6 separate regions of the Homo sapiens genome follow, and all the other regions are linked to region 1. Evidence: promoter capture Hi-C in human tissues and cell types (Jung and others, 2019). All regions are on one chromosome and are shown on one strand. Each heading gives the region's core, a stretch centred on a gene start or on the middle of the fragment in contact. The rest is flanking DNA. Distances are from core to core; before and after follow the strand shown.

The links. The method cuts DNA at HindIII sites, captures the fragments that hold promoters and counts their contacts. A contact is called where the count stands out against the background at its distance.
Region 2: a fragment that was not itself captured here is called in contact with the fragment with the promoter of KLB in region 1 in 1 of the 25 tissues and cell types used here (lymphoblastoid cells).
Region 3: a fragment that was not itself captured here is called in contact with the fragment with the promoter of KLB in region 1 in 7 of the 25 tissues and cell types used here (H1 embryonic stem cells, aorta, liver and 4 more).
Region 4: a fragment that was not itself captured here is called in contact with the fragment with the promoter of KLB in region 1 in 5 of the 25 tissues and cell types used here (liver, lymphoblastoid cells, mesenchymal stem cells and 2 more).
Region 5: a fragment that was not itself captured here is called in contact with the fragment with the promoter of KLB in region 1 in 3 of the 25 tissues and cell types used here (adrenal gland, lymphoblastoid cells and mesenchymal stem cells).
Region 6: a fragment that was not itself captured here is called in contact with the fragment with the promoter of KLB in region 1 in 2 of the 25 tissues and cell types used here (IMR-90 fibroblasts and lymphoblastoid cells).

What each region holds. Positions count from the first base shown.
Region 1 is chr4:39,404,822-39,410,012 of GRCh38, forward strand. KLB (klotho beta) reads left to right here and starts at 2,109. Exons shown (of 5, transcript NM_175737.4): 1 at 2,109-2,953. The coding sequence starts at 2,129. The HindIII fragment of the contact is 19,436 bases long and covers 1-2,942 here.
Region 2 is chr4:39,151,712-39,156,902 of GRCh38, forward strand. No RefSeq gene overlaps it. Among named protein-coding and RNA genes, the nearest start is that of WDR19, 28 kb to the right of the region's middle. The HindIII fragment of the contact is 6,621 bases long and covers 1-5,191 here.
Region 3 is chr4:39,203,452-39,208,642 of GRCh38, forward strand. It overlaps WDR19 (WD repeat domain 19), which reads left to right. Exons shown (of 37, transcript NM_025132.4): 7 at 191-271; 8 at 1,703-1,815; 9 at 2,112-2,285. Among named protein-coding and RNA genes, the nearest start is that of WDR19, 24 kb to the left of the region's middle. The HindIII fragment of the contact is 8,963 bases long and covers 1-5,191 here.
Region 4 is chr4:39,229,414-39,234,604 of GRCh38, forward strand. It overlaps WDR19 (WD repeat domain 19), which reads left to right. Exons shown (of 37, transcript NM_025132.4): 18 at 2,384-2,543; 19 at 2,749-2,859. Among named protein-coding and RNA genes, the nearest start is that of WDR19, 49 kb to the left of the region's middle. The HindIII fragment of the contact is 4,326 bases long and covers 777-5,102 here.
Region 5 is chr4:39,251,125-39,256,315 of GRCh38, forward strand. It overlaps WDR19 (WD repeat domain 19), which reads left to right. Exons shown (of 37, transcript NM_025132.4): 25 at 2,022-2,168; 26 at 2,782-2,906; 27 at 4,724-4,836. Among named protein-coding and RNA genes, the nearest start is that of WDR19, 71 kb to the left of the region's middle. The HindIII fragment of the contact is 3,716 bases long and covers 933-4,648 here.
Region 6 is chr4:39,275,618-39,280,808 of GRCh38, forward strand. WDR19 (WD repeat domain 19) reads left to right here. Exons shown (of 37, transcript NM_025132.4): 34 at 1,403-1,526; 35 at 2,514-2,590; 36 at 2,922-3,046. The coding sequence ends at 3,033. Among named protein-coding and RNA genes, the nearest start is that of RFC1, 88 kb to the right of the region's middle. The HindIII fragment of the contact is 8,469 bases long and covers 1-5,191 here.

The DNA.
Region 1 (5,191 bases), core at 859-3,358:
AATTTTGTATTTTTAGTAGAGATGGGGTTTCACCATGTTGGTCAGGCTGGTCTCGAACTCCTGATCTCAGGTGATCCAGCCGCCTCGGACTCCCAAAGTGCTGGGATTACAGGTGCGAACCACTGTGCCGGGCCTCAATCATCTTTTTTTAGAGGTGAGGATAGTCTCACTATATTGCCCAGGCTGGTCTCAAAACTCCTGGCCTCAAGCAGTCCTCCCCACTTAGCCTCCTAAGTAGCTGGGATTATAGGTGTGAGCCACCTCATCTGGCACAGAGACCAAACTATTAACCACTCTGCTTCTCATTCATATGTGATACTTCAAATATTTAAAACATTTATTTATTTATTTATTTATTATTTTTTGAGACAGAGTCTCATTCTGTCACCCAGGCTGGAGTGCAGTGGTGCAATCATGGCTCACTACAGTCTTGACCTCTTGGGCTCAAAGCAATCCTCCCACCTTGGCCTTCTAAAGTGCTGGGACTACAGGCATGCACAACCACACCCGGTTAGTTTTTAATTTTTTTTGTAGAGATGGGGCCTTATTATGTTCCCCAGGCTGTAAAACATTAAATTTTTTACAGGTTATTTGGAGGCTATCGATTTGGTACAATATTTCTTTCTGTATGTGCATGTATTTCTTTCTGTATGTTTATCTTTATTCCAGAATCATGCTGAAGGTAGTCTATGCCTTTGCTATTTTCTTTTTCAGGTTTTTCTTTCCTTTTTAAAAATAAATATTGCCTATTCTTCAAGGGAACTTTCATAATAATTTTCTCTTTTTTTTTTTTTTTTTATTTTGAGACCGAGTCTTGCTCTGTTGCCCAGGCTGGAGTGCGGTGGTGCGATCTCAGCTCACTACAACCTCCACGTCCCAGGTTCAAGAGATTCTCCTGCCTCAGCCTCCCAGGTAGCTGGGATTACAGGTGCCCACCACCGTGCCCAGCTAATTGTATTTTTAATAGAGACGGGGTTTCAACATGTTGGCTAGGCTGGTCTCAAACTCCTGACCCCAAGTGATCTGCCTGCCTTGGCCTCCCAAAGTGGTGGGATTATAGCCATGAATCACTGTGCCTGGCCTTTCGTAATAATTTTCTTGAACTAAAATTTGGGATTAGGCCAGGCATGGTGGCTCACACCTATAATCCCAAGCACTTTAGGAGGCCGAGGCAGAAGGGCTGTTTGAGCCCAGGAGTTCAGGACCAGCCTGGGGGACATAGCTAGACCCCACCTCTACCAAAAAATCAAAAATCAGCTGGGCATGGTGGCATGTGCCTGTTGTCCCAGCTACTTGGAGGCTGAGGAGGGAGGATTGCTTAAGCCTGGGAAGTTGAGGCTGCGGTGAGCTGTGATGACACCACTGCACTCCAGCCTAGGCTACAAAGCAAGACTCTTATTAAAAATTAATTAATTAATTAAAAAATTAGAGATTAGAGAATTTTAGTTAAGTTAAATAAATAAAATAAAAAATAAAATTAGAGATTAGAGGATTTTAGTTAAGTTAAATGTATTAAATTGAAAAGTATTTCATTTTTCCATCCACAAAGTGCTATATTTTCTCATTCAAGTCTTCTCTCAAATCTACCAATACATTTTTGCAATTTTCCTAAAATAGGTAACATTTATTAAGATTGTTCTTAGATGCGTTATAATTTTGTGGAGAAGTGTAATTTCTTATTGTGTTTTCTAATTCTTTACTATTGGTATGTAGGAATGCTATATACTTGTATATGTTATTTTTCTTGATATATGAGATTATAAAATTACCACACAAAAACTCTAAAAATAGAAAAGCTATATACCTTATTCAATAATGTTCAAAACATTCAGAAAAGATTTGGGTCAATATGAAAGGCTACACGGAAAATAATGTGATTTTAATCCAGTGTTTACATATGTGTTAGTTACACATTCAAACTCTTGTCACCGATGCATTTTCATCTAATTTTTTCCATAATGAGAGAGAAGGAGACGCGTTGGTGACTGCAATAGGGCCACCTCCCTCAAATTACGTTGCTCTCTATGACCCATCCTCAGTCTCCCAGTTCAAGCTAATCATTGACAGAGCTTTACAATCACAAGCTTTTACTGAAGCTTTGATAAGACAGTCCAGCAGTTGGTGGCAAATGAAGCCAGGCTGTGCGGCAGGATCTCCAGGGAATGAATGGATTTTCTTCAGCACTGATGAAATAACCACACGCTATAGGAATACAATGTCCAACGGGGGATTGCAAAGATCTGTCATCCTGTCAGCACTTATTCTGCTACGAGCTGTTACTGGATTCTCTGGAGATGGAAGAGCTATATGGTCTAAAAATCCTAATTTTACTCCGGTAAATGAAAGTCAGCTGTTTCTCTATGACACTTTCCCTAAAAACTTTTTCTGGGGTATTGGGACTGGAGCATTGCAAGTGGAAGGGAGTTGGAAGAAGGATGGAAAAGGACCTTCTATATGGGATCATTTCATCCACACACACCTTAAAAATGTCAGCAGCACGAATGGTTCCAGTGACAGTTATATTTTTCTGGAAAAAGACTTATCAGCCCTGGATTTTATAGGAGTTTCTTTTTATCAATTTTCAATTTCCTGGCCAAGGCTTTTCCCCGATGGAATAGTAACAGTTGCCAACGCAAAAGGTCTGCAGTACTACAGTACTCTTCTGGACGCTCTAGTGCTTAGAAACATTGAACCTATAGTTACTTTATACCACTGGGATTTGCCTTTGGCACTACAAGAAAAATATGGGGGGTGGAAAAATGATACCATAATAGATATCTTCAATGACTATGCCACATACTGTTTCCAGATGTTTGGGGACCGTGTCAAATATTGGATTACAATTCACAACCCATATCTAGTGGCTTGGCATGGGTATGGGACAGGTATGCATGCCCCTGGAGAGAAGGGAAATTTAGCAGCTGTCTACACTGTGGGACACAACTTGATCAAGGTACTGTACAGCTAGCTTCTTCTTATAGCTTCAGAAAACACTAAGAATTTAAGAATTTACCTTCTGCCTCAGTAATTCTCTTCACTGAAATCAAGGCAACTGATTTTAAGCTAATTCAAAAGATCTATCCTCAAATTTTGCATTTAAGTTAGTGTATGTTTTATTTATCTAAGGTATTTTTAATGTATTAATCCAATTAGTTTTTTCAAAAGTTGCACTTTGAGGCTATTTTTAAATCTACCATTATACACTACAGTGTGAATATATGAGCTTACTTTCATTCTGTGGGAAAACAGTGCTTCATAAATTTAATTGTTGGAACCCTTTTCTGACAACATGCAATCATTTCAGAATTATCTTAAGGCACAACCATTTCAAATATGTATTTGTTGTTAAGTATAGCTAACTTAGCTAATAAGTAAATAAAGTAAGTAAATAAGTAAGCCAAATAAATGTTAGCTAACTCATGCATATTAAATACAGAAATTTAAATATACTTCACTTTTGATTTTATTTGTGTTACATAGCAAAAAAGAGAAGATTAATTGTTATGGGAGCTAAACACATTTCTTCCCATAAGAACTGGGAAGAATGTGCTCTACTAAAGCAATTTTCAAGCAATATATTTCAAAAGCTAGAGATAATGTTGAGAAATGTTAAAATTAGTAAAACAATAGTGAAAATACAAGCAAAATAATAGGTAATAATTACTGAGTACTTATTATGTACCACAGACTACATTAAGTATTTTACATGCATCGTTACAGTTGATCCTCTTAACAGCCTTTTGAACTAGTTTTATTATTCTTCCCATTTAAAAGATGAGGAAACTGAAGCTTAATGAGATTAAATAATTTTCCCAAGGTTAAGGAGTAAAATACAGCTGTTGTGGACATGGATTTTTTAAATGACAACATAATTAACACTAACTGTCTTCATTAAGAATGCTTTGAAAAGAAGACTCAGGAATTTGCAAGAGATTTAGCCTCACATTGAGGCTAATATCTAGAATCGAATTTAACTTTTTGAGTCAAATAGTTTACTTAGGAAAAATAAATTATTCTGCACACCTGTTACATTTTAAAAATGAAAAAACTTTATCAATATAATTTTATAATGTGCTACAAAAAGTAATTTAATTATTAATAATCAAAAGCTAAATATACAGAAGTAGAAAAAAAATACAGCAACATAAAATAATTCCATGTCTAAATTTGTACATACAAAAATATCTGCTATCACTTCTTTTCTTTTTGAACTTTTCTGGATTATTACACATGTGCATTGTACTATGGTTTCAGATACATCTGCCCTTGAGGTAAACAGATTGCATTATGATTTCAAGGTCATTTGCATATCTTTGACTAGAGTTGTATATAGAACATATTAATGTGTGGGTATACTGTGATTTGACAAAATAAGACCTTAAAGGGTAGAAATTGTATAGGTATTTAACAGTTATCAAGATTATGCATACAAAAGTTAGAAAAATATTCCTCTCATTTAGTCCTTTTAATTTTCTTTTTTTTTTTTTTTGAGACAAAGTCTCACTCTGTCACCCAGGCTGGAGTGCAATGGCGCAGTCTTGGCTCACTGCAATCTCCACCTCCCAGGTTCAAGCAATTCTCCTGCCTCAGCCTCTTGAGTAACTGGTACTACAGGCACATGCCACCAGCCCAGTTAATTTTTGTGTTTTTAGTAGAGAGGGGTTTCACTATGTTGGCCAGGCTGGTCTCCAACTCCTGACCTCATGATCCACCTGCCTCAGCCTCCCAAAGTGCTGGGATTACAGGTGTGAGCCACTGCGCTCAGCCAGTCCTTTTAATTTTTAAAACAATTCATGCTCATGTACATTTAAAAATATCAGATTGGGCCGGGCACAGTGCCTCATGCCTGTAATCCCAGCACTTTGGGAGGCCAAGGCAGGTGGATCACAAGATCAGGAGTTTGAGACCAGCCTCGCCAACATAGTGAAACCCTCTCTACTGAAAACACAAAAATTAACTGGGCGTCGTGGCACGTGCCTATAGTCCCAGTTACTCGGGAGGCTGAGGCAGGAGAATCCCTTGAACCCGGGAGGCAGAGGTTACAGTGAGCCGAGATCACGCCACTGCACTCCAGCCTGGGCGAGAGTGAAACTCTGTCTCAAAAAAATAATAAATAAAAAATAAAAATATCACATTGTACCAAAGGATCTAAAGTGAAAAAGTTAAATCCCTCTCCCTCTCTTCACCTGAC
Region 2 (5,191 bases), core at 1,440-3,939, 250 kb before region 1:
AGACACAGCTCAAATACAGATAATGTGGCTCTAGCACCCTGGCTCCTAACCACTCCTCTATGCAGCATTAGAAATAAGAATGTTGGCCAGGCACGGTGGCTCACGCCTGTAATCCCAGCACTTTGGGAAGCCGAGGCAGGCAGATCACAAGGTCAGGAGATCGAGACCATCCTGGCCAACACGGTGAAACCCTGTCTCCCCTAAAAATACAAAAATTAGCCGGGCGTGGTGGCACGTGCCTGTAATCTCAGCTACTCGGGAGGCTGAGGCAGGAGAATCGCCTGAACCCAGGAGTTGGAAGTTGCAGTGAACCAAGATCGCCACCGCACTCCAGCCTGGCGACAGAACGAGACCCCATCTCAAAAAAAAAGAAAAAAGAAAAAAGAAATAAAAGAAAGAATGTTTGGCTGAGAGCGGTGGCTCACGCCTGTAATCCTAGCACTTTGGGAGGCCAAGGCAGGTGGATTGCCGAGCTCAGGAATTCGAGACCAGCCCGGGCAACACGGTGAGACCCTGTCTCTACTAAAATACAAAATAATTAGCCAGGCATTGTGTTGTGCGCCTGTAATCCCAGCTACTTGGGAGGCTGAGGCAGGAGAATCACTTGAACCTGGGAGGCGGAGGTTGCAGTGAGCCTCGGCTCCACTGCACTCCAGCCTGGATGACAGAGTGAGGATCCGTCTCAAAAAAAATAAAAATATAAAAAAGAATGTTCATTGTTGCATTTTCTAATTTAAAAAACCTTGCTGGAAACTAAATGTCCATCAGAAAAAGAATGTATAAGTATATTGTGATGTAGCCATACAATGGAATACTGTTTAGCAGTTACAAAGGTATGCGTCAACATAATGAGTCCCAGAAACACAGGGTTGCATTTTGTTTTAAAGGCATGTGGCTAGGCACAGTGTCTCATGCCTGTAATCCCAGCACTTTGGGAGGCTCAGGCAGGAAGATCACTTGAGCCTAGGAGTTCCAGGCTGCAGTGAGCTATGATCATGCCACTGCACTCCAGCATGGGCAACAGAGTGGGACTCTGTGTCTAAAAAATAAGTAAATAAATACATAATTTAAAAGCATGCAAAACATGATTCAATATAAAACCATGTATATATAAAAATTTGTCAAAAAATTCTATACAGTCTATATATTCCTTCCATATATTCTATGTAGTGTTTCCAGATACATATATATATAGCAAAAGTATGAAAATATTCATAGCAATAATAAACCAAATTTGGGATAGTGGCTGCCTTTGAGAAATAGAATCAGGAAAAACAGGCATGCAGCCTTAAACTTATCTATAAGGTTTTGTTTTTAAAAATGTATTAGGCTGGGCATGGTGGCTCACGCCTGTAATCCCAGCACTTTGGGAGGCCGAGGTGGGCGGATCACCTGAGGTCAGGAGTTCGAGACCAGCCTGGCCAAGATGGTGAAACCCCATCTCTACTAAAAAAAATACAAAATTATCCAGGCATGGTGGCGCATGACTGTAATCCCAGCTACTCGGGAGGCTGAGGCAGGAGAATCGCTTGAACCTGGGAGGCGGAGGTTGCAATGAGCAGAGATTGCGCCATTGCACTCCAGCCTGGGCAACAAGAGCAAAACTCCATCTCCAGAAAAAAAGTATTAAAGTCCTCATCAAATAAGGCACAATGCTAAGACTATTCCGAATCTGGGTGATGGGCATAAGAGCATTTATGATATTTATTTTCTTTATTGTTCTGTGTCCCTGAAATTTTACATGATAAAAGTCCAGCATTTGTTCACATTAAAATGGTTAATTTTATGTTATATGCATTTTACCTCAATAAATATTTTCTCTTTTTTTTTTTTTTTGAGACGGAGTCTTACTCTGTTGCCCAGGCTGGAGTGCAGTGGCATGACCTCAGTTCACTGTAGCCTCTGCCTCCCAGGTTCAGGCGATTCTCTGCCTCAGCCTCCTGAGTAGCTGGGATTACAGGCATCACCTGTACAGTGTACAGTGCCACCACACCAAGCTAATTTTTGTATTTTTATTAGAGATGAGGTTTCACCATGTTGACCAGGCTGGTCTCGAACTCCTGGCCTCAAGTGACCTGCCCACCACAGTCTCCCAAAGTGTTGGGATTACAGGCGTGAGCCACTATACATGGCCTCAATAAATATTTTCTTAATATTTAAAAAATGAGTTCAGGTGGAACTTAAAGCTCTCACAAACGTTAATGACATTTTCTTTGACCATATCTACATAATGCAAAAAAAAACAATAAAAAGATGTAACTTTATTTTGTATTAATTATACCAGTGTGGGCCAGACAAGGTGGCTCATACCTGTTAATATAGTTGGGATTTGTGTTCCTACCCAAATCTCATGTGGAATTAGAGGAGGGACCTGAATGGAGGTGACTGGCTTATGGGGTGGATTTCCCTCTTACTCTTCTCATGATAGTGAGTGAGTTCTCAAGAGATCTGATGGTTTAAAAGTGTGTGGCACTTCCCCCTTCACTCTCTCTCCCTCTTCTGCCACCATGTGAAGAAGGTGCTTGCTTCCCCTTTGCTTCCGCTATGATTGTAACTTTCATGAGGCCTCCCAGTCTTGCAGAACTGTGAGTCAATTAAATCTCTTCTTCATAAATTACCCAGTCTCAGGTAGTTCTTTATAGTAGTGTGAAACAGACTAATACACCTGTAATCCCAACGCTTTCGGGCGCCAAGGCAGGAGGCTCTCTTGAGCTCAGGAGTTCAAGACTAGCCCGGGCCACATAGTGAGACCTCATCTCCACAAAAAAATTTAAAAATTAGTCAGACATGGTGCTGCATGCCTGTAGTCCCAGCTACTTGGGGGCTGAGATGGGAGGATCACTTGAGCCCACCATTGCACCATCACACTCCAGCCCGGGCAACAGAGTAAGACCCTGTCTCAAAAACAAATAAAAAATTGTATCATTGTGGTCCTCATAAGTGTGATTTTTAATAGGTGTACGGTTCCATATTCAAATCATTCTAGAAAAAGAATAATTAGGACCCTTTAAATAAAATATTCTTCATTCAGTGTACTACAAATAATAACTTGTCATTATCTACCTTCCTTACTCACTGGGTGACTTCATGTCATCTGAACCCTGGCTGAGACAATTAACTAGATGTAAGGGATTAACACAAATTGTTCACAATTTTTCTAAGCAGTCAAATATCCTCCAACTGAAAAAAAATGTTCCTAATAAGAATGGTTTTTAATTTAGCTATTGACTCATTTCCCACCAATGTAGTATCACATTTATAATTTAGATTTTATTATTCTAAATGGCTATTTGAGGGCATATTAAGAAAGAAGCTACAATATAAAGAACAAGTATTAGAGTTAAAAAGAAAACTAATAATTACATAGCCTCTTTGAACCTTTAAGGCCCTTATTTACAAAATGTACAACAATGCTTAGAGAAAAGGATAACTGAGATAATTATTCAAGAAGCATAAATAAAAGCTTTTTATAAATTCCAAATGACTCCACAGAAGTGGGTAATTTAAATTTAAAAACCAAACGATTGAATCAAAATATCAGTTGGCTTCTTTGCAGAAATCAACAAGCTGAATCCAAAAATTAGTATGAAAATTTAAGGGACCCAGAATAGCCAAAACAATGTTGAAGAAAAAGAAAAAAGTTGGAGGATTCACACTTTTTCATTTCAAAATTTATCACAAAGCTATAGATATTGAGACAGTGCTGTACTGTCATAAAGATAGACATGTTGATCAATGGAATGGAATTGAGAGTCCAGAAATAATCCTTAACATTTATGATCATTTTTGACAAGAGTGCTAAGATGATGGGGAAAGAATAGTCTTTGCAACAAGTGATGCCATACACATGCAAAAGAATGGACTTGGACCCTATTAAACACCATATACAAAAATTAACTCCAAATGGATCAAAGATCTAAATGTAAGAATGAAAACTATAAAACTCTCAGAAAAAAACAGAGGCATAATTCTGAATGAACTTGGATCAGGCAATCATTTTTTTTTTTTTGAAACGGAGTTTCACTCTTATTGCCCAGGCTGGAGTGCAATGGCGCGATCTCGGCTCACTGCAACCTCCGCCTCCTGGGTTCAAGCAATTCTCCTGCCTCAGACTCCAGAGTAGCTGAGACTATAGGCACACACCACCATACTTGGCTAATTTTTTTGTATTTTTAGTAGAGACGGGGTTTCACCACGTTAGCCTAGCTGGTATCGAACTCCTGACTTCAGGTGATCTGCCCACCTCAGCCTCCCAAAGTGCTGGCATTACAGACGTGAGCCACCTCACCCAGCCAAAAATTTTAAAACTTCTGTGCTGCAAAACACATCAAAAAGTTGAAAAGATAACTCACATAATGGGATAAAATATTTGCAAATCGTCTATCTGATAAAGAAAGGATTTGTATCCAGAATATATAAAGAACATGTACAACTCAACAATAAAAACTTAAATAACCCAATTTTGAAAATGGACAAAGGATATGAAAAGTCAGTTCTCTGGAGAATATACACAAATGGTCAATAAGCGCATGAAAAGATACTCGACATCATTAGTCATAAGAAAATGCAAGTCAAAACCACAATGAAAAATCACTTCACACTCACTAAGATGGCTATAATAAAAGGAACTGATAAGTGTTAGCAAAGATGTGGAGACGTGGACCCCTCATACAGTGCTGATGTGATTGTACAATGGTGCAGCTGCTTTGGAAAACAGTATGGCGGTTCCTTAAAATATTAAACATAGAGTTAACACATGACCCAGCAATTTCACTCCTAGGTATCTACCCAAGAGAAATAAAAACATATGTCCACAAAAAAAAATGTGTACACCAATGTTAATTGCAGTAATATTCAAAATAGCCCCAAAATGGAAACAACCCAAATAGCCATCAACTGATAAATGGAAAAAGAAAATGTGGTGTATCAATTCAATGAGATATCATTTGGCAATTAAAAGGACTGCAGTACTGATACATGCTATGACATGGATGAGCCTAGAAGACATTACACTAAGGGAAAGGGGCCAGGTGTGGTGGTGCACACCTGTAGTCCCAGCTACTCGGGAGGCTGAGGTGAGAGCCTGGGAGCTAGAGGCTGCAATGAGCCGAGATCACGCCACCGCACTCCAGCCTGGGCAACAGAGAAAGACTGCCTCAAAAAGAAAAAATATATATATATGCAATCTGAA
Region 3 (5,191 bases), core at 1,664-4,163, 200 kb before region 1:
GCTTATTTATCTATTTAATAAGATATATTTTCTGTTTCATCTAGAATTTCTAGATATTTGTGACAGTAGGATTTTCAGGTTCTTAGTCCAACATTAGTCAGGAATGAAAACAAGTTATCCATTCTATTAATATTCAGAATGAATTTAAATATTGGGTTTGTTCATAGTGATGATGTTTTTACTCCTTTAGACACAAGTGAGATCAGAGCCTAGCAACATGCAGTTTTTCTTGATGAAGATGGATGACCGAACCTCTGCTGCTGAAAGCATGGTAAGAATTCTAATCAAATCCACGTGCAAATCATTTGGGTAATTTTGTGGAATGTATAATTTACTTTTCTTGGATGACTAAAATAGTGATAAATAAATTAGGTCCATTGACTGTATTTTAAGCCAAGGTAGAGCTAGGTCTTTTAGTCCCTAAAAGTTGTTGTAATTGCTACTGACTACCTGGCATTACAGCAAATGAGGACAGCTTTCTGTTACAATTGGTATTGCTCTTTTCATTCTTGTGATAGCAAAAACATTAGGGGTACCTTGCAGAACAGAAGTATTAATTCATATATTATTTTTAAAATTTTTACTCTATGAGATGTGGTTAGCAGACCTCTTGAAGTTGTAGGCTTGTTTTTTTTTGTTTGTTTTTTTTTTGAGACAGAGTTTTGCTCTTTTTATCCAGGCTGGAGTGCAGTGGTGCAATCTCAGCTCACCGCAACCTCCACCTCCTAGGTTCAAGCGATTCTCCTGCCTCAGCCTCCCTAGTAGCTGTGATTACAGGCATGCGCCACGACACCCAGCTAATTTTGTATTTTTAGTAGAGATGGGGTTTCTCCATGTTGGTCAGGCTGGTCTCAAACTCCCGATCTCAGGTGATCCACCTCCCTCGGCCTCCCAAAGTGCTGGGATTACAGGCGTGAGCCACCGCACCCGGCCAAAGTTGTAGCTTTTGGTTAATACTTAGATGCATCTTCCCTGCCACATCTTAACATTCTGAAATCAGTATGATTTTCACAATCAATATGAATATATTTAATAAAGTAGTAGTTCTTTGTTTCCTAAAAACCTATTAAATTGATAGTGACTTACAATTGAGAGCATCTTATAATTAAGGAAATACATGATAATGAGCCCAAATAAGTAATGTACTTTTTTCTCCCCAACATAATTACATCCTCCACTGGGAATTACACTTAAGAATTTACTTGCATGAGTAGCAAAGAGACACTAGTTTAGCCAACACTGACCTGCAGGTGATGGAACCAATGATGATATAAAAGCCAAGCTGGAGTATCCACAGGAGTGTGGACCTATAATCCCAAATGGCTCAAGAGCAGAACAGCCTCTTAGAGTGGAAGAGTCTTTATAATCTAAATATGAATTCATTTGCAGTGGAACTGTCAGACTTACAATCCTGTAGTGTGCAGTACTCTAATGAAAGGTATAGAAAATTTAAATGGACACTCCACAAAGGAATTGTAGTATATTTCAAAGGGTATATTGAAGATGTGTAAAACCAAGGACGCTTACCAGTTTATATATTAGTAAATACATTTTTAGTCATATTGTACTAGTTACAGCATTTAGCACATCTAAATTGGGCTTATTATTTTCACAAATTAGGTTCAGCTGTTGGATTTGCTTAATGGTCTTTTCATGAAGTACTAAGTAACTCATTTCACAATCTCCTAATCTTTTCTGGCAGATAAGTGTGGTGCTTGGCAAGAAAACTTTGTTTTTTTTAAATCTGAATGAACCAGATAACCCAGCTGATCTTGAATTTCAGCAGGACTTTGGCAACATTGTCTGCTATAATTGGTATGTCTGCTATAACTGGTATGTACAAAAAGCTCATTACAGAAGGACATCTGTAGGTTTTTCCTTACTAATTGTATTCAATTTTTGTTTGTAACATTCAATTCTATACGTCACATTTTCTGATTCATGGTCTGTGATTTAGTATGCAAAACTACCTAGTATATTATCTGACACAAAGTAGGCCCTTGATAAATTATATTCTATAATTCCTTAATTTTAAGGTACTTGCTAATTTACCATGTTGCCACTGATAGCTAATCTCCTTGTTTACCATATTGTTGCCTTCTTTGCTATAGGTATGGTGATGGCCGCATCATGATTGGTTTTTCATGTGGACATTTTGTGGTCATTTCTACTCATACTGGAGAGCTTGGTCAAGAGATATTTCAGGCTCGTAACCATAAAGATAATCTAACCAGCATTGCAGTATCACAGACTCTTAACAAAGTTGCTACATGTGGAGATAACTGGTAAGTTATTTTCACATATTTTTAGGAAAGCTTATATAGTAAATACTTAAGTGAATCAGCCAAACTTTGTTAGCTAATATGAATCTGGCAATCATGTTTACAATTTAAAACGTCTAAGACTACTTTGCTCCTGATTTTAATATTCAGGGCAAAAATATAAAACAAAGTATAGTTGAAAATCAATCTTAAAAATAAAATAGGTAGTTCTGGGTAACATGGAGTAAGCACACTCCACCCCATGTCTCCCACTGAGTACAGCTATAAAACGTGAACAGAATGCATGGAGCAGATATTTAAGGACTCTGAAAAGTAAATGGTAGCAGGCAGATTGGAAAAGAAGACGGAATTTGAAGTGCCAACTAACCAGTGGGGAGTCTCCCACTTGTCCTCTGCTGTCTCACAGCCAGGACTCAAGGAAGTCTGAAACCTAGAAGTAGGCACCAAAGCACAGAGAGAGCTTTAAGGAAACTCTCTGGTTCTGGCTTAAGTTGCAGGAAAGAGAACTTATAATGCTCAAAGGCAGTTGGGGAAATCCCCTGGTTTTCTTTTTCTTTTTTTGTTCTTTGTTCTCTAATGCTCCAGCCACCAAGCAGTCTCCCCATGGCAGTGGCAACAAGAACAGTGGCACCAAGGACCCACAGGCACCTAAAACTCTGATGGAGGATAATCTTCTCTCCAATTAGAGGCTGTGGCTTCAAGAAGATAGGGCAAACCACTATTGCCTATTTTTCTCTCTGTCCTCCCTTGGTCACAAGTGCTCATACAGTGTGGGAATTATGTGGTAGAACAGAGTAACTAGAGATCAAGCATTAATAGAGGACCAAAATTAGGAGACCTAGGGATTGGAAAGTACTAGATTGATCATAGGGAGGAAGGAACTCAGGAAAGCAACCCTGTAAAGATATTTATGAACTCCTGGGTTCATCCTTAAGCGCATATGTATAGACTTATCCTAAACATATACCAAAGACCCTGTGAACTGAACTGAGACATAGATCATAGCCAAGGTCTTATACTAGCCACTGAGTGGGCCATAGAGGGACATATCTGAATACCACTGCAAAGGCGTTGAAAATAGAACTGACATTGAAACCGTCAGCTACAGAAGGCTCCTTGAAACTTGTGGCCTGAACCCAGCCAGGTTGATGGCCTGCTGAAACAAAAATATTAACCTTCTCCATGGGATTTAGATTAGACACAATCTCATAATTTCACAAGGTCCAGAATAGAACCCCAAATTACTTGACATATGAAGAATTAGGAGAATTTTAACTCGCTCAGGAAATAACAATAAAAAAACACCAATGCCAAGATTATGCAGATAGCAGATATAGAAATGCTCCAAGAGGTAAGGGCTAATGCTCTTGAAACAAATGGAAAACTAGAAAGTCTCAGAAAAGAAATAGAACCAATAAAGAAGAACCAAATGGAAATTTTAGAACTATAAAATGCAATAAATTTGATAGACTTAGTAGCAAATGGAGAAAATAAAGAGTCAGTGAACTTGAAGAGAGATCATTAGAAAATATCCAATCTGAACATGGAAGAAAAAAATGAAACAAAATTATTTGTCCCAGAGACCTATTAGACAGTAACAAAAGGTCTAGTATTTGTGTCTTCGGAATCCCAAAAATAATGGCTGGAAACTTTATGGCAAAAGACATAAACGTGCATATTGTAGAAGCTCAGCAAGTCCCCAAAAGGATAAACCAGAAGAAATCTAGAGCTATTCACATCATAATCAAACTGTTGAAAAATAAAGACAAAGAAAAAATCTTGAAAGCAGCCAGAGAGCAACATTTTGAATGACAGTGGATTTTCTCACCGTAAAGCATTGAGGCTAGAAGGAAATGCCACAATATTCTTAAAGTGCTAAAATAAAAGCATTGTCAACTGAAATTCTTTATCCGGTGACAATGTATGTCAGTAAATGAAAGTGAAATAAAAGCATTTTTAGATGAAGGAAAATGAAGAGACTATCTTGCTCTCTAAAAGAACTGCTGAAGGAAGTTCTTCAGATAGAAGAGAACTGAGAACAGAAGGAAATTTGGGACATTAAGAATGAAGGAAGAGCAACAGAAATGGTAAATATCCGGGTAAATATAATAGACATTTTTCTTTTGAGATCTTTAACGTATATGTGATGGTTTAAAAAAAAAATTATAATATTGCTCAGTAGGGTGTTTAATGCATGAAAATGCAATATATAAGACAACTATACTATAAAGGGGAGAGAGGGTAAAAGTTTTTGTATGCGATAAGACTTCTACATTCCACTTGAAATGGCAAAATATTGATTCTAAGTAGACTATGAAAACTTAAATATGTATATTATAATCTAGAGCAACCTCTAAGAAAACTATTCAAAGAAATATACAAAAGCACAATAGATAAATTAAAATGGAATACTAAAAAATGTTCAAATCTAAACAAAGGAAAGAAACAGGAATAAAAACAAATAAAAGAGAGAACAAATAGAAAGCAAATAATAAAGCAGTAGACTTCAATTCAAACATGTCAGCCCATTAAATGTAAGTGAAAAACTTATTAGACATAGACTGAGTGGATTTTTTTTTTTTTTTTTTTTTGAGACAGAGTCTCACTCTGTTGCCCAGGCTGGAGTGCAGTGGCATGATCTTGGCTCACTGCAACCTCCGCCTCCCAAGTTCAAGTGATTCTCCTACCTCAGCCTCCCAAGTAGCTGGGATTACAGGTGTGCACCACCATGCCTGGCTAATTTTTGTATTTTTAGTAGAGACGGGGTTGTACCATGTTGGCAGGCTGGTTTCGAACTGACCTCAAGTGATCCACCCGCCTTAGCCTCCCAAAATGGTGGGATTACAGGTGTGAGCCACCACGCCCAGCCTAGAATGTATTTTTAATGACCCTATTAAAAGGGTCATTGT
Region 4 (5,191 bases), core at 1,690-4,189, 170 kb before region 1:
AGCCCTTAAGAACAAAACGGTTTCTAAGCTTCCAGAGAGCCTAGTTATTGGGAAATCCTAATAAAATAAACCTAATTATTTCAACAATATCTTGACTTCATCATAGTGAGGTTTGATTTTGCTTTGCTTATAATTTCCTTTTACTGTTTTTTTCTCTTATCTCCTAGAGCCACCGTGAATTCCTTTGACGTTCTAATTCTTCCGAGCCTCTCTTAAATGCTGCTGTTTATTGGGGTCTCATGAGTTTCCTTCTCTTCTTACTCTAATTATTCTTCCTGAGTGAATCTCCTCTGCTTAACATGGCTCAACATACCACCCATATGAAGCTGACTCTAAAATCTGTGTCTTTATCTTAAACCTGTACTTACAACTACCTTCCAGTCATGTGTCCTTGGAAGTCCATGAGCTCTTCAAACTTGCCCTTTCTAAAACTGAACTCATCAATTTCCACAGGCCCCTATTTTCCCTCACTGTAATCACACATGCACATGCCTTAACACACATATACACCAGCTCCTTTCCTCCTCCCGTGTTCCCTCATCTTTACCCAGGCCCTCACCTGGAATAATGTGTAATGTAACTAACCACTTCCTAACTGCTCTGTCTGCCAATAGCCTTGTAACGATCTCATCTGTTCTCCACACACTTTTGAAGATGTGATTTGATCCTCTTATTTCCCTGCTCAGGATCCTTCAGTGACTTTCTATTGCCTTTACAAACAAATCCATTCCTGGGGGACCTCTATGACCTACTAGGCACTTCATGATTTAACACCAGCTCAACTGTCTCCACTCAAGTCCCTCTCTGTTCCACTGGCTGCTGAAATTGCATATATTTCATGATTCTTCCTGGAATGCCCTTTCCCTGCTCTGAATGTAGTAACCCCTCTTTCTTTACCCATCAGCGATAAGTGGAGCCATCTCCTGCTCCAGGAAGCCTTCCCCGACTTCCCCACCACCACAGGCAGTCCTGCTTGGGGTCTTTCTGATGTGTTGCCTCAGAGCCAGGATGCAGTATACACAGTGGTGAAGAGCATGACACCACTTACCTCTGTGTGCCTTGGGCTAGTCTTTTGACGTCTCTAAGCCTCATTTTCCTAATCTATAAAGGAGACATAATAATAATACTTAGTGGGTAGGGTTATTAGGGTAAGAGAATTTATGCAAAAGACTTAGCACAAAGAGTTACCTATTGTAAGTACTCAGTTACCTCTGTCAAACTATGCTATAGTCATTTGTTTCCTTATCTGTCTCTTCCACCTTCCCCAATTGTGACTGCCTTAAGGACAGCAACTGTGGTTGATTTTTGTATCATGTTTCCAAGCATGTAACGAGTTCAGTAAATGTGTGTTGGATGAAAAAATGGATAGGTGAATAGATAAATGGATGAATGAATAGATAGATGGATGTAATATATTCACTCATGTAGAGGTTCCACAAAAAGTTTAATTGGCATTTATGTTCATGTTTTAAACCAGAGGTCGGAAAACCTTTTGTGTTAAGGTCCAAATGGCAAATATTTCAAGCTTTACGGGCCATAGGGTCTCTATCGCAGCTACTCAGTCTGGCTGTTGTAGCAGGAAAGTGGCCACAGACAATCCATTAAAGAGTGGGCTGGGCCGGGGACGGTGGCTCACACCTGTAATCCCAGCACTCTGGGAGGCCGAGGCGGGCGGATCATGAGGTCAGCAGATCAAGACCATCCTGGCTAACACGATGAAACCCTGTCTCTACTAAAAATACAAAAAATTAGCCGGGTGTCATGGCATGCGCCTGTAGTCCCAGCTATTCGGGAGGCTGAAGCAGGAGAATAACTTGAACCCAGGAGGCCGAGGTTGCAGTTAGGTGAGATCACGCCATTGCACTCCACCCACCCTGGGCAACAGAGTGAGACTCCGTCTTCAAAAAAAAAAAAAAAAAAAAAAGAGTGGGCTGATCAGTGACTTTGTTCCACTCAAGCTGTATTTTCAAAACAGCACCTGACTAGATTTGGCCCATAAGCCATAGTTTGCTGACCCCTGTTTTAAACTTCTAAATTTATAGGAATAGAATACTAATTTTATTAGACTTATATGAGAACAAAAATAATATTCATCTATGTGTGAAATAAAAAGAAATAAATGAATAGGATTAGCTTAGTTAATTGAGTAGGCTTATTACAGAGTAGATTCAGATTAATAAAAGAAATTTAGGGAAAAACATTTATCTGTAAAAAAAGGAAGAAAGCTTAAGTGTTTTTTCATTACTTGTAAATGACAATTACAGGTTAAGAAATGTTTTAGACAGTTTATCTGGGGCACGCTATTAGATGACATGTAGTCTGAAAATTGCCTAACATGTGGCAAGTGGAACATTCTGATTAAGCTTATGTTCTTACATCCCAGGTTTTCTGATGCTTGGGAAATGTGCAGGATTCTGAATGATGAGGCTGCCTGGAATGAGTTGGCCAGAGCTTGTCTACATCACATGGAAGTGGAGTTTGCAATCCGTGTTTATCGGAGAATTGGAAATGTTGGCATAGTGATGTCCTTGGAACAAATAAAGGTAAACAGCATGTTATAGAATTATCAAGTTAAAATTTAAATGCTATTTTAAGTTAAATGCAGTCTAAATTTTTTGCATTTAATCTTACCTCTTAAACAAGTGAATCGATAGAACGTTACCACTTCCTACTGATCAAAGTCCTTAAAAAAAAAAAAAAGTTAAACTCTTGCATTTTTTTTCTCATCAGAATTGCTTTTATTTGTAGGGAATAGAGGACTACAATCTTTTGGCAGGACACCTTGCCATGTTTACCAACGATTATAACCTGGCTCAGGACTTGTACCTTGCATCCAGCTGTCCTATTGCTGCCCTGGAGGTATGGCAGCAAGTAAGAATGGAAATTGTGTAAGAGGTATCCAGTGGGGAAATGGGGGAAAAAAAAATGGGGCCGGGTGCAGCCGCTCACGCCTCTAATTCCAGCACTTTGGGAGGCCAAGGTGGATGGATCGCCTGAGGTCAGAAGTCCTAGACCAGCCTGACCAATATGATGAAACCTCATCTCAGCTAAAAATACAAAAATTAGCCGGACGTGGTGGCATGTGCCTGTAATCCCAGCTACTCAGGAGGCTGAGACAGGAGAACTGCTTGAACCTGGGAGGTGGAGGTTGCAGTGAGCCTGTAATCCCAGCTACTGTAATCTCCTGCCCCAGCAGGAGAATTGCTTGAACCTAGGAGGCAGAGATTGCAGTGAGCCAAGATTGTACCACTGCACTCCAGCCTGGGTGACAGAGCGAGACTCCGTCTCAAAAAAAAAAAAAAGGAAAGAACATAAGAATATCAAAGGAGGATCACCCCTTCTATATAATTAAAATTTCTCAGCACAGACACTATATGCCTTCCCCCTCCTAAAATTCAAACATGTCAGTTTAAGAACCCCTGAGTACTCATTAATTATAATGTTAATCATTAAAATTATAATTCAAAAATGTTTATTCTGCATTTTGTGGAGGTATAAAATGCATGGTATTATAACATTACTAATTGAAATCTAAATGTGTCCAAAGAGAACAGATTGTGTAAATTACAAAAACATATACAAGGAAAAATATCACCATATATTGAGTGCTCATGTGGGCCAGGCATTTTTCTAAGCACTTATCATGTATTAATTCATTTAACCCTCCCAACAATCCTATGAGATAGGATTGGTTTTTTCTCTATTTTCCAGATGGGAAAACCGAGGCACATTTATCCTTATTGTGTGAAATTCTGTTGTGTATTAAAAGGTGAGCTAAGGACTAGTGTACCATCACTGGTTTCCCAGAGGTGAGCATTGCAGGAGAGGGCCTAGAGCAGGATGAAGGGCCTGGTTAGTTCAAGGGCAGGGAAGAAGGGAAACCTGGCAATATAGACTAGCAATGAGGGGCATAGACTTCACAGTCAGACATGTCTGGGTTCAAATTCCAGCTCTGTGTAAGCTTGGACATGTTATTTAACCTTTCTGAACCCTAGATCCTATTTCTTTAAAGTAGGAAGAATAATATCTAACCCACGGGATATTTGTAAGGATTTAAAAATGAGAATGAGGTCTTTTAGCACAGTGCCTGATCAATAGTAAAGACACATAATTAGCTATTGTAATCATTAATATTATTTCACCTAAAACTGGCATTTCTACAACTATGTAAAAGAGCTTGTTTTGGGAGCGTTTGTTATTAATTTTACAACTTTCCTTTTACAAATCATTCTATAGCAAATTTTCATTTTTAAATTTTAAGTGAACTAAATTAACTTTGTTATAAGAAAAATTTAGGTAATTTTACAGTATTATTTAAGATAATTGGGACACCCTGAGAAGTTTTCAAAACTTGGATTAGTACTCACTGAAATAGGAATATGGCTGCGATGACTGAGGGGAAATATATCATCTCAACTCTTTTGCATTTAACTGTGGGCACTTGTCATGTGCTGCTAGACTTGGAAAGGATTTGAGGTAATGGATTGATAATGGAGAGGGGTGATTACTCTTTAACCTCACTTTGAAAGCTGATGAGTTAACCAGGTGAAGAGTTCAGAGGCAGAGCCCTACTGCCCAGCTCTGTCATGTACCAGCTGTGTAACCTTATATACAGAGGAGCCTCTGTTTGCCTCAGTTTCTGGATCTCTAAAATGGATACAAGAAAGTATTAATAAATTGCAAAAGGGTAGTTGTGAAAGATAAATAAGCTAATCCCCTAGAACAGTATCTGGCAGATAATAACACTTGAAAAATGTTAGCTATTATTGTTTAGGAAGTATGAATAAAGTGAGGAATGAACTTTAAAAGATTAATGATGAGTTTATATTTAGAATTATGTACCAGGCAGAGAAAAAAGACCACAGGAACATATATTTACATTTTAGTTACATTTGCTATTACTCTTGTGATAGAGCTTCAGATTTTCTAAGAAAAACACACCAATTCCTATAGCAAAGTGTTCTCAACTTTTTAGAATCACTACCTTCTAAAAATAAAAATTAACTTTAATTTAATTGATTACATTAATTTAATTTGATTACTCCTTGCTGAGAAAAATTAAATACTAAGGACTAAGATTTTGTTAGATACGACTGAGTTTTGGAGGGCCACAAACCATTATAATAGCTAAGATTTTTTTGCCCCTCCAAGAATCAATTTTTGCCTCCTTCAGGGCTCTATCAAGACCCTA
Region 5 (5,191 bases), core at 1,541-4,040, 150 kb before region 1:
TAACCAAAACAGCGTGGTACTGGTACCAAAACAGAGATATAGATCAATGGAACAGAACAGAGCCCTCAGAAATAATGCTGCATATCTACAACTATCTGATCTTTGACAAACCTGACAAAAACAAGCAATGGGGAAAGGATTCCCTATTTAATAAATGGTGCTGGGAAAACTGGCTAGCCATATGGAGAAAGCTGAAACTGGATCCCTTCCCCTTACACCTTATACAAAAATTAATTCAAGATGAATTAAAGACTTACATGTTAGACCTAAAACCATAAAAACCCTAGAAGAAAACCTAGGCAATACCATTCAGGACATAGGCATGGGCAAGGACTTCATGTCTAAAACACCAAAAGCAATGGCAACAAAAGCCAAAATTGACAAATGGGATCTAATTAAACTAAAGAGCTTCTGCACAGCAAAAGAAACCAACATCAGAGTGAACAGGCAACCTACAGAATGGGAGAAAATTTTTGCAACCTACTCATCTGACAAAGGGCTAATATCCAGAATCTACAAAGAACTCAAACAAATTTACAAGAAAAAAACAACCCCATCAAAAAGTGGGTGAAGGATATAAACAGACACTTCTCAAAAGAAGACATTTATGCAGCCAAAAAACACATGAAAAAATGCTCATCATCACTGGCCATCAGAGAAATGCAAATCAAAACCACAATGAGATACCATCTCACACCAGTTAGAATGGCGATCATTAAAAAGTCAGGAAACAACAGGTGCTGGAGACGATGTGGAGAAATAGGAACACCTTTACACTGTTGGTGGGACTGTAAACTAGTTCAATCATTGTGGAAGTCGGTGTGGTGATTCCTCAGGGATCTAGAACTAGAAACACCATTTGACCCAGCCATCCCATTACTAGGTATATACGCAAAGGATTATAAATCATGCTGCTATGAAGACACATGCACACGTATGTTTATTGTGGCACTATTCACAATAGCAAAGACTTGGAACCAACCCAAATGTCCAACAATGATAGACTGGATTAAGAAAATGTGGCACATATACATCATGGAATACTATGCAGCCATAAAAAATGATGAGTTCATGTCCTTTGTAGGGACATGGATGAAGCTGGAAACCATCATTCTCAGCAAACTATTGCAAGGACAAAAAACCAAATACCTCATGTTCTCACTCATAGGTGGGAGTTGAACAATGAGAACACATAGACACAGGAAGGGGAACATCACACACCAGGGCCTGTTGTGGGGTGGGGGGAGGGGGGAGGGATAGCATTAGGTGATATACCTAATGCTAAATGACGAGTTAATGGGTGCAGCACACCAACATGGCACATGTATACATAGATAACAAACCTGCACGTTGTGCACATGTACCCTAAAACTTAAAGTATAATAATAAAAAATAATAAAAAAAAATTAAAAAATTTTTTAAAGAAGTGTAACTTTCTATAGCCTCTGGAAATTAACTTAGAAATATCTATTAAGGAACTTTTAAAGGAGATTTAATACCCTTTTAAATACTTTTAGAAAAGTAACCTTAGGAAATAGAGATATACACTGAATGTCTTGTTGAAATGGAGCTGAGAGCTGGTCAGGAACTGAAGAGGGGTCCTGAGCTCTATCTAGAGGTCAACACTAAAGTTTGAGCTTTGTGACTAAGGATATATAAAGGTTTTATATATCAACATTAAGCTGTATCTATAATTGTGAAAAAAATCTACATTTTCTATATTACTATTATAATCTTCCTACTTAAAAGGAAAAAAACAGTAAAATGTTTAAAAATATATAGCTTTGATTCAGATGGGAAAATACAATTTAATATTGATATTTTACTGTTCATTTATCAAATTCCTAAACAGAACATTTTAGTGGGATGGTTCCTGGTATTTTTCTGATAAAGGAAAAAGAAGTTCAGGAAAAATAAGCAGTCACCATCAATAAAATTTAAAAGTGTCCTAAACATTTATCAACATTTTCTCCCCAAATTGACAGTGTTAAAAAAAGTTTATCTGAGCTATTTTTTTACAGATACAAAGAAGCTGTTGTAGCTTATGAAAATGCAAAACAGTGGCAAAGTGTAATCCGCATCTATCTGGATCACCTCAATAATCCTGAAAAAGCTGTCAATATTGTTAGAGAGACCCAGTCTCTGGATGGAGCCAAAATGGTAGCCAGGTAACATAATACATTAATATTTTTGGACTTTCAAAAACTAACCATAAAAGTAAGCCTCTGCCTTCTATCATCAAATATATTAATTCAAAAGGAATATTTAGTCTTTATTTTTTTATCAGGTCTAAGCGTTTAAATTCAAAGGCTGTCGTGGTCAGCAGACAAGAGTATGTCTTTCAAGTGTAAGCATATAATATAGAACTGCATGCTGGGCATGGTGGCTCACACCTGTAATCCCAGCACTTTGGGAGGCTGAGGCAGGTGGATCACCTGAGGTCAGGAGTTTGAGACCAGCCTGGCCAACATGGTGAAACCCCATCTCTACTGAAAATACAAAAGATTAGCTGGGTGTGGTGGTGCATGCCTGTAGTTCCAGCTACTTGGGAGGCTGAGGCAGGAAAGTCGCTTGAACCCAGGAGGCGGAGGCTGCAGTGAGCTGAGATTGCACCACTGCACTCCTGCCTGGGTGACAGAGTGTGACTCCATCTCAAAAAAAAAAAAAAGAACTGCAATTTATCTAAAAATTTTGATTTTTAAATGGTTTCTCCTGGTTGAAAAATTTTGTAAATCACAAATTTATATTAAGAGTCTAGCTAATTAAAGTACTTTGCTTTAGGTTTTTTCTACAGCTTGGTGACTATGGGTCTGCCATCCAGTTTCTTGTCATGTCCAAATGCAACAATGAAGCTTTCACACTGGCTCAGCAACACAACAAAATGGAAATCTATGCAGATATTATTGGTAAATATCATTTTTTCCCTGGTTCTCTTCAAGATGTTTATCATAAAAACACTTTGTCTCTTATGATCTAATTATCAGATTGGTATACATACAAGAATGCGCCTGGTGTAAATGTTTACCATTTATACATAGACACACATGTATCTATGTTATGTGTTGGATTTGAAGATCCCTGCTACTTCAAGGTGAGATGGTATTATTAAAAAGGACTATTTTCAAAAATTAAGGGTTTTTCTGTGTGAATTCCAAGAGAGGCTAGATTTCCCAAATCCTGCTATTTATCAGCCAGTAGTAAATCAAAGATTTCAAAATGAAGGTGATAGGAAATGCAAGATGATTTTTGAAAATGTAAATATTTTCATTAAAAAATTGAGTTACAAATTAAGAAAAATGCTTACTTTGGTGAACAGTGATATACACAAGATGTGTTTTTCAAAGATTTGGACAGTCCAAAGGATAATTTGATATTCTGAGAATGCCTGTTTAGAGGTTTTCTTCTCATGTTTGCAATTATTTTTAGAAACTACTGAAATAATTTTCAGATTTTCATTTCATGGACCATACATAATGTTATTTGTGTTTTGTTTTGTTTTCTTATTGTGCTAAAATATATATAATATAAAATTTCCATTTAAAAGTGTATAATTTGGTACATTCATTCACGTTGTTATGCGGCCATCACCACTGTCCATCTCTAGAACTTTTTCATCATCCCAGACTGTCCCTGTACCCGTTAAATAATAATTCCCCATTGCCCTCTTTCCCCCAGACCCTGGTAACCATGATTTTACTTTCTGTATCTGTGAATTTGACTATTCATGGTACCTCGTATAAGTGGAATCATAAAATATTTGTTCTTTTTGTGTTATTCTGTTTTTTAAAATCCACGAAATGACCATAAGAATTGATGTTAGGATTCACAAGAAAATATTTATTTCAGTCTTCAAGGAAACAAATTAATTAGGTAAAAGCTTCTTGGGATGCTTTGGCTTCCCAAATGACTTCTTGCAAAGTTATTAAGATAATTAGAGAAAACAGAGTTAAAAAAAAGAAAAGGAGTACAGATAGGCAACTTTAGAATTGCCAATGTTTAACTTGACAGATGACATTTCTGTCCTAACATTACTACCACCATTTCACTAAAGCAGTTTTTCTAAGTTTGTAAGAATATGGTTTGTCTTATATAAGATGTGTATATTGGTGGGGGGTGTGTGGGCCTCCTCCCACCTTCAAAACACACACATACTTTTCCCCACTTTGCTTTATGCCTTTCTCTTATAAACTCCCTCTTCCTCCAGCTGGAGGCGCAGCATGGTTGTTATACTTTAGTATTCTATTGGGCCCCAACTCCCACGGGTAAATGTAAACAATGAGTTGGAATTCCAGTAGCTTTTGGGGTCCTTCTTCCTCTATGCTTAATATATTTAAGCCCCAAGCCAAAGGAAAGACAGTCATATCTTTAACCAGCATCTACTGGCTACTTGAATGTCATCTTCCCTACTTGTCTGACAAATATACAGACTATTGTTTAAACCAGGCATTGCTGAGAGGTATGCATTCCATTTGTATTACTAACAAAAACCTTGTAATTTCCTCTCCTGGTTCACATTTAGAGTTAAAAAAAAAAGATGGAACAGAGTTACTATTTGGAGTAATTGTGATAAGTATGTTTTGTGATGAAAACAGACATTAATAATTACATTGATGTTTGCTGTTAAGAGTTTTTAATCACCTATTTTTAGATTTTATTTTCAGGTTAGCAATAAAAGGTAAACAAATTTTGCTCAGATATTTTACTCAGTAAACTTCTGTTACAGGTTCTGAAGACACTACTAATGAAGACTATCAAAGCATTGCCTTATACTTTGAAGGAGAAAAGAGATATCTTCAGGCTGGAAAATTCTTCTTGCTGTGTGGCCAATATTCACGAGTTAGTATTTGCCAAGAAAATATACACTGACTCCGCAGGAATAATTGTAGGAAATATACGTAAATGCCAGGAATAATTGTAGGAAATATATGTAAATGCCAGTAACTCCCACTCAGATTTGAAATCTCAGAGCTAACTCTGAAATATTCCTCTCCCTCCCACACCCAGTCACAACCTTCCTTCGTAATACCTCTCACATCTGTCACTTTCATTCTAACTACTGTCAGCTCAATCCAGGCCCAGATGACCTTGCTTCTGATTATTGCAGTAGTTTCTTATTTTTCCTGTTTTTAGTTTGTCCGCCTTTAGAGTTTGTCATCCTTCACTTTGTTCCCCAAATAATAGTTGCTTTCAC
Region 6 (5,191 bases), core at 640-3,139, 130 kb before region 1:
ATGAGAGGTCAAAGGGATCTTCGCCTTTTTGTTCAGAAAGGTACCATCCTCAGGACCTTCAATTTTCACCTCCATGGCCAGTACTCTGCCTCACAGGACTTAAGGCTGCTAAGTGGAAACAAAGTTCTGTTGGCAAGGAGATGGAGAGAAGCAGCGAACTATGTCTGCCAAAGAGGGATGAAGAAAATAGTGGACGTTCAGTGGAAGTTCCTCTCAGTGTGAGGAACTTCATATTCACAGGGCCCACTGCCAGCAGAGAGCTCATTTCCAAATCCTGTGCAGCCCCAAAAGCCCTTAGGCACGTCCTTGCTTCAGAAAGCAGTCAGTAGCCTGGTTTTTCTAGGTTTTTCTAAAGAAAAACTAGGAAAAAGTAGCCCTTGCATTTGGAAAAGAAAAAAGTCATTGCAGTCATAGAGTAATTCTAAACAACCACTTTTTCAGAAGTGATGACATGTGGGGTTCCTGTTCATTACATTATGACGAGACCCAGGTACCTGAATCTTGGATCCAGACCTTAGCCCAGGGAGATGACTGGATTGGTAATGACAAATGGAAGCAAATGACACTTCACTGGTAGCTGGGCTTGGGAGCTACCCTCATGGCAGAGAGCTCTAAGCTGGATGGGAGTACATAGAATACTCCTTTTTTTAAGTCTAAGTAGCTTCAGACCAAATCGGTCTGACCCAGAATACCTGCTAGTATGGAGAGTGGGATGGGGAGAAGGTAACTAGAAAATGCAAGATCATGTTTACCCCAACAGCATAGAACCACGCTAGCTGGGGCTCTGGCTGGGAGGAGATGCTAGTCATTCTCTCCCCATGCACAAATGGTTTATAGCTATGTGGTCCAATATGGTACCTGCTAGCCACATGTGGCTATTTAAATTTAGTTAAAATGGAATAAAAGTTAAACTTAGTTCTTCGCACTACCCGTATTTCAAGTGTTCAAATGTGGCTCATGGCTACCATATTGGATAGCACAGAATCCAAACATTTCCATTGTCACAGACAGTTCTATTGGACGGTGCTGGTATAACTTGTACCACTTCTGTTACACAAAAGGGAGAGACAGAGGGAAAATACCAAGCTCACCACTCCAGTAGCACAGGAAGAGAGAAGACCGCAAGACCTACCCATGCTTTCTGCCGTTGAATGTGCTATGAACTCCAGTTCCCAAAGGTGGCCCATGTAACACCCTAGAACCTAACCAATCCTAGGTACTCTTCCTCCTCCCTGGAGTGGATCAAGGGCTGGTGTGAGCTTGTAAGTATCTCTCTAAGCCCAGAGTCTGACTATGAAGTAGGTGTGTCATATGTCCCTGGTTTTCCAAATATGCTTTCTCTTTGCCATCCCCGGTACATGAATAAAACGGCATTTTTAAATGACATGATTCTTCCTCACAGGAGACCCGATATATCTGAGATAGAAGAGGCCACGACTCCATGTCCATTCTGCAAATTTCTTCTCCCAGAGTGTGAACTCCTCTGTCCTGGATGTAAAAACAGTATCCCATATTGCATTGCAACAGTGAGTTCCTTTATAGTAATTTCCCTTTCTTTGCATATATATTTGTAACCCATTTGAATACTTGATGTATGTCAATATTTTCTTCACTTTTAAAATAATCTTATCCCTCAAATTTCCTGCAACATCTAGCATTTTATTTCATAGTCAATACAGTTAAAGGTGATATTCAAAGCAAATAATAATAGTGGAGGCACTATCACTGCAGGACCAAATAGCACAGACTCGGGGATCAGACTATCCCGGGCTCAGTCCTCTGTAGTAACACCTGCCTACTGAATCAACCACAGATTGACGAGCTACACAATTCCTTGGTGCCATCCTGGCAGGCTGCAGCACTTAATAAGCAGTAGTTTTTATTATAATATTGAGACCTAGTATCAGAGAACTTTAACATATCAGGTTATTTATAATTCACTGGATTAATTTAAGCTTTATTTTAAAGAAAACTAAATTCAGGTAATATCACAAAACTGAATATTATTCCTTTAAACATGAATCTGATAAGTAAAACCTAGCTTTAATCCTTTTAATGCTGTCTCTCTGTTACCCACACATGTGAAATAGCAATGATTTTATAATTTAGAGGTCTGACTTATAACTGGAATTCAATTATTATAATTGAATAACAGGCAGGGTACAGTGGCTCATGCCTGTAATCCTAGCACTTTGGGAGGCCGAGGCAGGCGGATCATTTGAGGTCAGGAGTTGAAGACCAGCCTGGCCAACATGGTGAAATGCTGTCTCTACTTAAAACACAAAAATTAGCCAAGCATGGTGGCGCACGCCTGTAGTCCCAGGTGCTCAGGAGTCTGAGGCAGAAGAATCGCTTGAACCCAGGAGGTGGAGGTTGCAGACAGCCAACAATGTGCCACTGCACTCCAGCCTGGGTGACTGGGCAAGATTCCGTCAAAAAAAAAAAAAAAATTGACTAACAGTGGGAGTTTTTAAAATAAAGATGAATTTAACTCTTAAACATCCTGTTTCCAGGGTCGACACATGTTGAAAGATGACTGGACGGTGTGTCCACATTGTGACTTCCCTGCTCTATACTCAGAATTGAAGATGTAAGTGTGCATCACGTCACTCAGTCTCACTGATTTCTCCCGACACAGGCCTTTCATTCTACCTCTTTTCTTCCGAAGCATTCTTCTATTTGTGTTCCTAAGGATCTCTAAAGACTCAAATTGTCTTCTGGGAAGAACCTCCTGTGACCTTTGAGAATATTATCTTTAAAGAGGATCTTGCATGAGACTGAATAGTTCTGATTCTCAAATTGCATGGTGGACATGTGTTAAGAGGTGTAGACAGAAAGTTGTTGTCTTTCTCATTAGAGTAACCCAAAGCTAAAGGAATGTTATATATTTAATTTACTCTGCCTTTCCCTCCCCTAAACAGCATGCTAAACACTGAAAGCACATGTCCTATGTGTTCAGAAAGATTAAACGCTGCTCAGCTGAAAAAGATTTCAGACTGTACCCAGTACCTGCGAACGGAGGAGGAACTGTGATTGGCACGTGCAGGTGAGTGGCAGAGCGCCCACGCACCTTCTGGGCGCAAGGGCCCACAGCGTGCACGCAGCTTTTCACTGTGTATCAGCATCAACTCCTTTCAGTGCACCATGGAACTTGCCAGATTTGAACAATCTGACAACCACCTTTTGATGTATTTTTTTTAATGCTAAAATGCAGGTATTATCATCTCCATAATGACAAAGGTTGTTTAGCCAAGCAGTATGATTCTGACTAGACCAGATTTTGTCAAATCTCACAGGGGTCTTTTTAATCACTCCATTAAAACTAGAGCCAGCTAATAAAAGTATTTTTTTTTAGGGTCTGTGATATAATTCAGGAGAATATATTGTAAAAATGTTGGCTTCCAGAGATTTGGAAATAATCTCCATTTCTTTTTCTTTCCAAGTCCCATTTTTGTCACGTGGAAGCTACACATATTCCTTCTACTTCATTCCATTGGAAGCACTTACTCGTGGCCACACATACTGCGGAGGAAGGCAGGGAAATGTAGTCTTTAATTGAGAAGCCAAAAGCCGTGCCAAAACTCAGGATATTCTTTTACCAAAGGGAAAGGTGAAAGTAATTCATCTCTGACACAGCATCTCACACTTAGCCTGGTTAGATAGGAGTCGAGATGTCCCTCCACAACCTCTCTCTGTTTTCCCTTCCTCAGGAAGCGGCAGCTCCAGCCAACCAGTTGGACAGGACAGAAACCTACATATTATCTAGATACCTCTCACCCTCAGCCCCCATGAGCAAGGGCTCTCAGGCTATCTCCAGTATATCTGGTTCGTGGTTCTCTTGGCTTTTTATTGCACCTGCAAAAACAAAGAGCCTCCAAGTCTGTCCATGAACAGGCCCAGCCTCCTCCTCCTGCCTCAGGTCTGATTACTCACCATGTTGCAGCCCCACTGGCCTTCTTGCCCTTCCCTGGCCACTCCAAAATGTTTTCCACAGAAGTTGCACCCTCTTACATTCCCACCATCAGCACACAAGCGTTCGTCTCTCCATTCCACATCCCTGCCAACAGCTGCTGTCTGCCTTACTTTTTTTTTTTTTTTTTTTTTGAGACAGTCTTGCTCTATTGCCCAGGCTAGAGTACAGTGGCATGATCTCGGCTTACTGCAACCTCTGCCTCCCAGATTCTAGTGATTCTCGTGCCTCAGGCTCCCTGAGTAGCTAGGACTACAGGCGTGTGCCACCACGCTCGGCTAACTTTTGTATTTTTAGTGGAGACGGGGTTTCACCATGTTGGCCAGGCTGGTTTCCAACTCCTGACTTCATGCGATTCGCCGGCCTCAGCCTCCCAAAGTGCTGGGATTACAGGCATGAGCCGCCACACCCAGCCGGGTGTTTGTCTTTTTATTGTTCAGTTCTAAGAGTTCTTTATATGTTCTAGATACAAGTTCTATATCATGTATATGATTTGGAAGTATTTTTTTGTGGGTTTTTTTCCCTTTTCTTGTTTTTTTTTTTTTTTTTTTTTTAATAGAGGCAGGGTCTCGCCACATTGCGCAGATTGGTCTCGAACTCCTAGGCTCAAACAATCCTCCTACCTTGGCCTCCCAAAGTGCTGGGACTACAGGCATGAGCCACCATGCTCAGCCTTGGTAGCATCTTTGATGCACAAGTATTTTATTTTGATGAAGTCCAATTTATCTGTTTGATTTTCACCCCCTTTGGTTGCTTATGCTTTTGGTATTGTATCAAAAACCATTGCCAGGCTGGGCACAATGGTGCATGCTTATAATCCCAGTGCTTTGGGAGGCCAAAGTGGTAGGATCACTTGAGCTCAGAAGTTTGAGACCAGCCTGGGCAACATAGTAAGACCATGTCCCTACAAAAAAATAATTAGCCAGGTATGGTGGCATACACCTGTAGTCCCCGCTGCTTGGGAGGCTGAGGCAGGAGGATCACTTGAGTCTGGGAGGCTGAGGCTGAAGTGAGCTGTGATCAAGCCACTGTACTCCAGCCTGGGCAACAGGCTCAAAAAACCAACCAACCAATCAACCATTGTGTAAAGTAGACACAGTGGCATGCAGCTGTTATCCCAGCTACTCAGGAGGCTGAGGCAGGATTGCTTGAGTCCAGGAGTTCAAGACCAGCCTGGGCAACATAGCGAGATCCCATCTCTAAATAAAAACAGTGCCTACT